2 separate regions of the Homo sapiens genome follow, and region 2 is linked to region 1. Evidence: promoter capture Hi-C in 16 types of primary human blood cells and fetal thymus (Javierre and others, 2016). All regions are on one chromosome and are shown on one strand. The core of a region is centred on a gene start or on the middle of the fragment in contact, and the rest is flanking DNA. Distances in the headings are between cores, read along the strand shown.

What was found. Contacts are between HindIII fragments. The CHiCAGO score rates a contact against its expected background, and 5 or more counts as called.
Region 2: a contact is called between a fragment that was not itself captured here and the fragment with the promoter of KLHL15 in region 1, in 6 of 17 cell types (activated CD4 T cells, naive CD8 T cells, total CD8 T cells and 3 more). The highest score is 11.2, in activated CD4 T cells.

The regions. Positions count from the first base shown.
Region 1 is chrX:24,025,850-24,028,686 of GRCh38, reverse strand. KLHL15 (kelch like family member 15) reads left to right here and starts at 1,501. Exons shown (of 4, transcript NM_030624.3): 1 at 1,501-1,547. RefSeq lists enhancers at 422-921, 2,129-2,632, 2,633-2,837 and a silencer at 2,800-2,837. The HindIII fragment of the contact is 3,234 bases long and covers 1-1,877 here.
Region 2 is chrX:23,983,102-23,986,298 of GRCh38, reverse strand. It overlaps KLHL15 (kelch like family member 15), which reads left to right. Exons shown (of 4, transcript NM_030624.3): 4 at 1-2,579. Among named protein-coding and RNA genes, the nearest start is that of KLHL15, 42 kb to the left of the region's middle. The HindIII fragment of the contact is 240 bases long and covers 1,320-1,559 here.

The DNA of each region.
Region 1 (2,837 bases), core at 252-2,751:
AAAAAAAAAAAAGTAAAAAGAAAAGTGATTACCAAGACAACTACCACAGACTGGGAATTTCTGAAAAGCCTCAACTTTTCTTTTCTTTTTTTTTTTTTTGAGACAGCGTCTAGTTCCGTTGTCCAGGCTGGAGTGCAGTGGTGCAATCTCGACTCACTGCAACCTCTGCCTCCTGGGCTCAAGCCATACTCCTACCTCAGCCTCCTGAGTAGCTGGGACCGCAGGCCCGCACCACCATGCCAGCTAATTTTTTGTATTTTTAATAGAGACGGGGTTTCACTATGTTCGTCAGGCTGGTTTCCAACTCCTGACCTCTAATGATCCTTCCGCCTCGGCCTCCCAAAGTGCTGGAATTACAGGCGTGAGCCACCACGCCTGGCCTCAATTTCTTAAAAAGCAAAAACAGGAGGGAGGAGGAGGGTATGCAGTATCCTAAATCCTCAGAACCCCTGGGGAAGAACCTCATTCCAACTCCACCAGCACTCCCAGGCCCAGGCTTCTAGCATGCTTCCGACCTCGCTAGCTGCTAAATAAATAGCTATTGAGGAATGTGTATTCTCAAATACTTAGGCTAGAGGGCTAAGAAAAGACAGCTTCCATCTACCTCTGTGGGACTCTACCAGTGTGAAAGGATACTCTCAAGGTATTTAACAACTCCCATTACAGTCCAGAAATTGGTGGGGAAAGTTAAAATATATTTTCTTTTCTTTTTTTTTTTTGAGACGGTGTTTTTGCTCTGTTGCCTGAGCTGGAGTGCAGTGGCTCACGCTTGTAATCCCAGCACTTTGGGAGGCCAAGGCGGGCGATCATGAGGTCGGGGGTTTGAGACCAGCCTAGCCAACACAGTGAAACCCCGTCTCTACTAAAAATACAAAAGTTAGCTGGGCACGGTGGCGAGCGCCTGTAATCCCAGCTACTCGGGAGGCTGAGGCAGGATAATCGCTTGAACCCGGGAGGCGGAGGTTGCAGTCAGCCGAGATCCACTGCACCCCAGCCTGAGCGACAGACTCCATCTCAGAAAAAAACAAGCAAACAAAAACAAAACAAACAAACAAACAAAAACAAGAAAAGAAAAGTTAGCCGAGCATGGTGGGGCACGTCTGTGGTCCTAGCTATTCGGGAGGCTGAGGTGGAAGGATTGCTTGAGCCCGGGAGGTCAAGGCTGCAGTGAGCTGAGATCATGCCTCTGCCCTCCAGCCTGGCCGAGAGTGAGACTGTCTCAAAAAAAAAATAATAATAATAACATAAAAATAAGAAATAAGAGTGAAAGAGGCATCATTGATTGAAGATAACTTGGGGAGGGGTTCATATAGTAAACGTATAGATTGATTGAAAGACACAGCCCAGTTTTAAAACTACATAAATATCCAAAAAAGCACATTTGAAATTCCACGAGACCTTGCAATGTCAAAATAAGGAGGGACGGGAAGCACGGTGATCACACAATGGCTTATGACATACACTCACTACATTTATACCTGGTACAAAGAGCGCAGAAACGTTTCAACTCTTGCTTGAATCAAGAACAGAAGCCTCTCTTTAGACAGGTCAGTGCCACATAGTAATGTATAGCTTAAAATGTTAGTTAATGTACAAAAATCCAAACTCAGCGTTTAGATGTTCGGGAATAATGCATGAACATTTAAATATTCAGAAGTGGAATGTATGCATTTTTAAAGTTTATTTTATGATTTAATTTTAAAAATTTGTTTTAATGTGAAATTCTGGGGTAATTTGTCATGTAGTAATAGATACAAATATGGCAAGCAGGGATTTTTAAATAATGAACAGAAATATCTTAAAGGAGCTATTGGAAAAGATGGAAAGAAAGTGTGAACAACTTGGGAATTTCAGTGTCTTACAGTTTTTTTAAAGCTTGTTATAGTTTAAATCGGAATAAGGAAGCGTATTTCCAAAAGATTGAAGTGATTGTGTTATCTCTCCCACGAAGTAGTCTACTTCAGCAAAACAGTACACCGTGTGCTATTTTGGCCTCTTGGGAAAGATGGTATGTTCAAGTTTGCTAGAAAGAGATAATTATCGCTTTTAGCGACACCTCTCACGGAAAGTTCATCGGGATATTGGTCTAGAGAGAAAATGGCGGCGGGGGGTGGGGGTGGGGGAAGCCGAAATACCTCAGTTTAGGATCTGCTATGGGCAATGGATGCCCTAATTTAAGGTTAATTGTAGATCCACGGGCTTCCAACTGTGTATTTCCGTCATCTACACTTTTCCCAGAAAGAGATGCCATAATAAATTTACAAAACAGTCCTATAGTCTAGTTTTATATTCTTGTCAAGAAAAGGTAATATTTAAAAAGTACTAGCTAGAATTCTATAAAAAACGAACAACAAAAATCACTGCCCTCTGAATGTTCGTTCTTGATTATTTTGACGCAAGTAGAGACAGCTTTTTTAAATCCGGCATTATCTCCGGGTGGTGCAGACATGCAATTTTTTATGAATTTTCCCACCCTTGGGAAATCGATTTCTGAAACGTGTAATTGTTGTGCAGTAAGCCAAGTGGACAGTGACGCAATAGTCCACTGCAAGTTGCCTTACAAAAAATGATGTCATTTGGCGCAGATCTAGTCACTTTTATAACAGGTAGCTATGGAAAAGCTCCCTCCACGTTGTCCCCGATTCCCCCACCCCCACCGTGGCCAAGATGCAAAAAGACACTTTCCTGGCTTCCTAGCCCTCAACTTGTCGAGGGTGGGCGCACCGCAGTGGCTCAGGGCCCATCGCTCGTGCAGGCGGAGAGAGACCGCTGCAAGGGGACGAGGACAGCTGAGTGTCCTCAGCCCCGACGGCGGCGCCGCGGGGGAAGCTGCGTCG
Region 2 (3,197 bases), core at 190-2,689, 42 kb after region 1:
TTGTTTGTTTGTTTTTTTGCTGCTGCCACCATTGAACATAAAATGGAAGTGTGAAGTCATGGAAATGTGAAGACTTTGGTTTTTGGGGGTTTTTTGGGCAGTTATTAGACATACTATGAGATTAAACCTGATCTTCAAACTCCAGAATTGGAGGCATTTGGGTTTAAGAAACCAGGTACATAAGTAGCTTTTGAAAAAACCATTGGCATTGATTTCAAAAATCAATAATAATCTTATTTTATATATGAGACTTATATTTTCATTAACTAGTCCTGTCATTTACTTACAGTTTCCAAACATGAAATTTGGTATCTTGTTTCCCATGGTAATATGGGTAAAAGTCTTTTTCTACATTTAAAAAATACATTATTTTATTTTTGAAAGTTAGGAATAAGTTAGCCATTTAATTTTTTTCTACATTAGTTTAGTGGCTTTGTATGTGTGCTATTTTGCTTTAAAGAAAATAACGTCTTCATTATTTTCCTCATTGATGTCTTTTGCTAGAAAAGACCAAGAAAGAGCCATCAGGCCAGGTATCCACATCAAAGCCTTTACACTATAGTGGTGGTTCTCTTTAATTGCTTAGATATGACTTCATGACCCTAGTCAGGGTGACATCTGGGCAAACATTTGAGTATTCTTGGTCTTCCATTTTAAAGACAGAGGCCAAGATCAAAGTTCATGTTTTGTAAAATTCGTAAAATCTTAACTTGAACTAACTCTGGGTTCAGCTTTACGTAAGTCACGTCGGACCTGATGTTAGCTGTAATCAGTTTTGAGCTTTAAGGATAGTTGCTGTTGCTTGGGTTCTGAATGTATGAGAAAACTCCCTGTTTATATGTAGTTCTAATTTAGGTTATTTTAAATCCATGATTAACTTACATTCCCTTTTAAAATTATGGTTTTATTGCTGCAAGAGATTTATTTTTGTTATACTAAACTATGGAAAAGTTTTTCATAGCATTTTTTTCAAGTTTATTTTTTGTGTGCTTCATTTGGAGTTTTTGTTTATATACATTGCGCTCAAAAAAGTAGTTTTTTGAAAAATTCAGTAAGATTTGAATCTATACAGTTTAACTGTTATGACCTTTATGCGTGTTGTTTTCACTTTATATCTCAAATGCCAGAGTTCACAAAAATAGCTGATCTTCATTAATTACATCTTAATTAGAACCATTTGTTCTCTTCCGTGTCTTTGACCTTCTAAGTTTTGATTTTAAAGAAATTCCTTGCACTACAGCCTTTTCTTAAAATGCAAGATTCTCACTTTGAAGGTTTTGTGTTGGAAGAAATGCTACTGGTTTTTAAAAAGCAAAGCTTAACTAATAGAATTATTAGCTTTTCTTGAGACAGCTTTCTGTGTCCTCATTACTCTGCTCTGTGTGAGTGTTACTAGAATTTGTGAAATACTGACTGAGCCCTTCACTTATCTTTTCTAAAGCAGCACCTTTGGACACCTCATTCTGGGAAGCCTGCTCGAGTCATAGTAAAGGACACACGCTTTATGTGGGGAGAAGTGGTAAAAATGGAGTTTTGTCTTAATTACATGAAACTAAGCTTTAAAATATTTTATAACAGATTATTTGAGCTGCATAATCTAAACATGTCAAACGTTCAGTGGGACTATTTTTATATATGTATATGTGGGTGTAGGTCATAACATTTCAGTTTATAATATAAATTGTTATTTCAGTTTATAAGCTATCTCTCAGAGGAGACTAGCTCTTTTGAGAATTCATAATTTAAAGTTTTAGACTGAAGTAAAATGCAACATAGATAATAGTGTAAATCAGATATAATTGAGGGCTATATGGCAGTAAAACTGCTAGTGCCAGTTTTCTTGTTTGCCTGTTATACATTTTTGATTTTTGTTTTTGTATTCTGAACATTTTGAGAGATCATATGTTTGTTCAATTACATTTAGAGTTGGTTTGGGAATAAATATCTTCTAAAAAGAGATTTATCTTAAAAATGGAAGTCCTAAAAATTAGTTTATCCAGAGTTTATAAAGTCAAATATTCAGTAGGCATAGACTGGAATAGATAAATTCATGGAAATCATATCCTTTCAGTACACCGTATAACTTCAATATTACACAAGTAACATTGAGGAGAATGCCATCAGCTTTGTTCTCCCTTAAATTCTTTGGTTTTCTTTTTACATTTTGGGAACAACTGCATTTAAAATGTTATTAGTCAGTATATAGTAAGGATTAGGTGTTTGCTTTCTGAAGGAATGGTCCAGTGAGGTGATTGGGAGAGGTTATTTTCTACCTAACTTGTATATGCCCTATACCTCTTGGGCATACTTTGTCTATAGAAAAATATTTTGACCTTTAGGTACATTTTGGGCCAGTAGTCAAATAATCCTAGGGCCGATATAAAAATCTTAGAATAATTTAAGGTTTGCCTTTTATACCTGTTTTGAAAGCCTTTACATTTTTGTCAGGTAATTTTTCCCAAGCCGTGGATATAATCTATTCAAACATGTTTATGCTATCCATTCTGTTTTTAAATTGAAAAAAATGTTAAAAGTGTTTATGAAGAAAAGTTTAAATAAAATATTTTTAATCTTTAAAATATACTTCTTTATCTCTGATTATTTGCTGTTTTTTGATATAATCCATCACTTTCAAAGTCACTAATGACTTGATTAGCAGAATACATTTTGTTTTCCTTCAACATGCCAAGGAAGTGCCATGAAAATGTGATTTCTGCCAGTGCTTTCAGCCGCAGATTCAAATGAGAGCATTAGAGTGAAATTATTTATACTCTTATATGCAATGGAAATTTTATAATGAAGCCAAGTAATTAAAGTTCTACTAACACAGAGTTTTGCAGTCTTGCAAAATGAAAATATAGAACTGAGAAAAAGCATTTACAAGCCTCAAGCCTTAGTTTGGTGATGTTTAGATTTCCTTAAGCATTTTTGATTCATTGGTCTTCCAGGCATTTCTGAAATTCAGAACTAGGTGGAGGCCTTGGGTACATCAGCACATGTGTGCCATCTTTCAAATGACACCTAAGAAACCTCAACAGCATTCCCAAGCACCTAGATCCTGGCCTCAGGCAACCTTTCCAGCCTCTTTCTCCCCACCACTTCCTACACTCCATTCTGTTGTGATCTTTACATGTGTTCCTTTCCAGCCTAAAATTACTTGCCTTTCTTTCCCCTGCCCTGCTTGTTAAAATCCACTT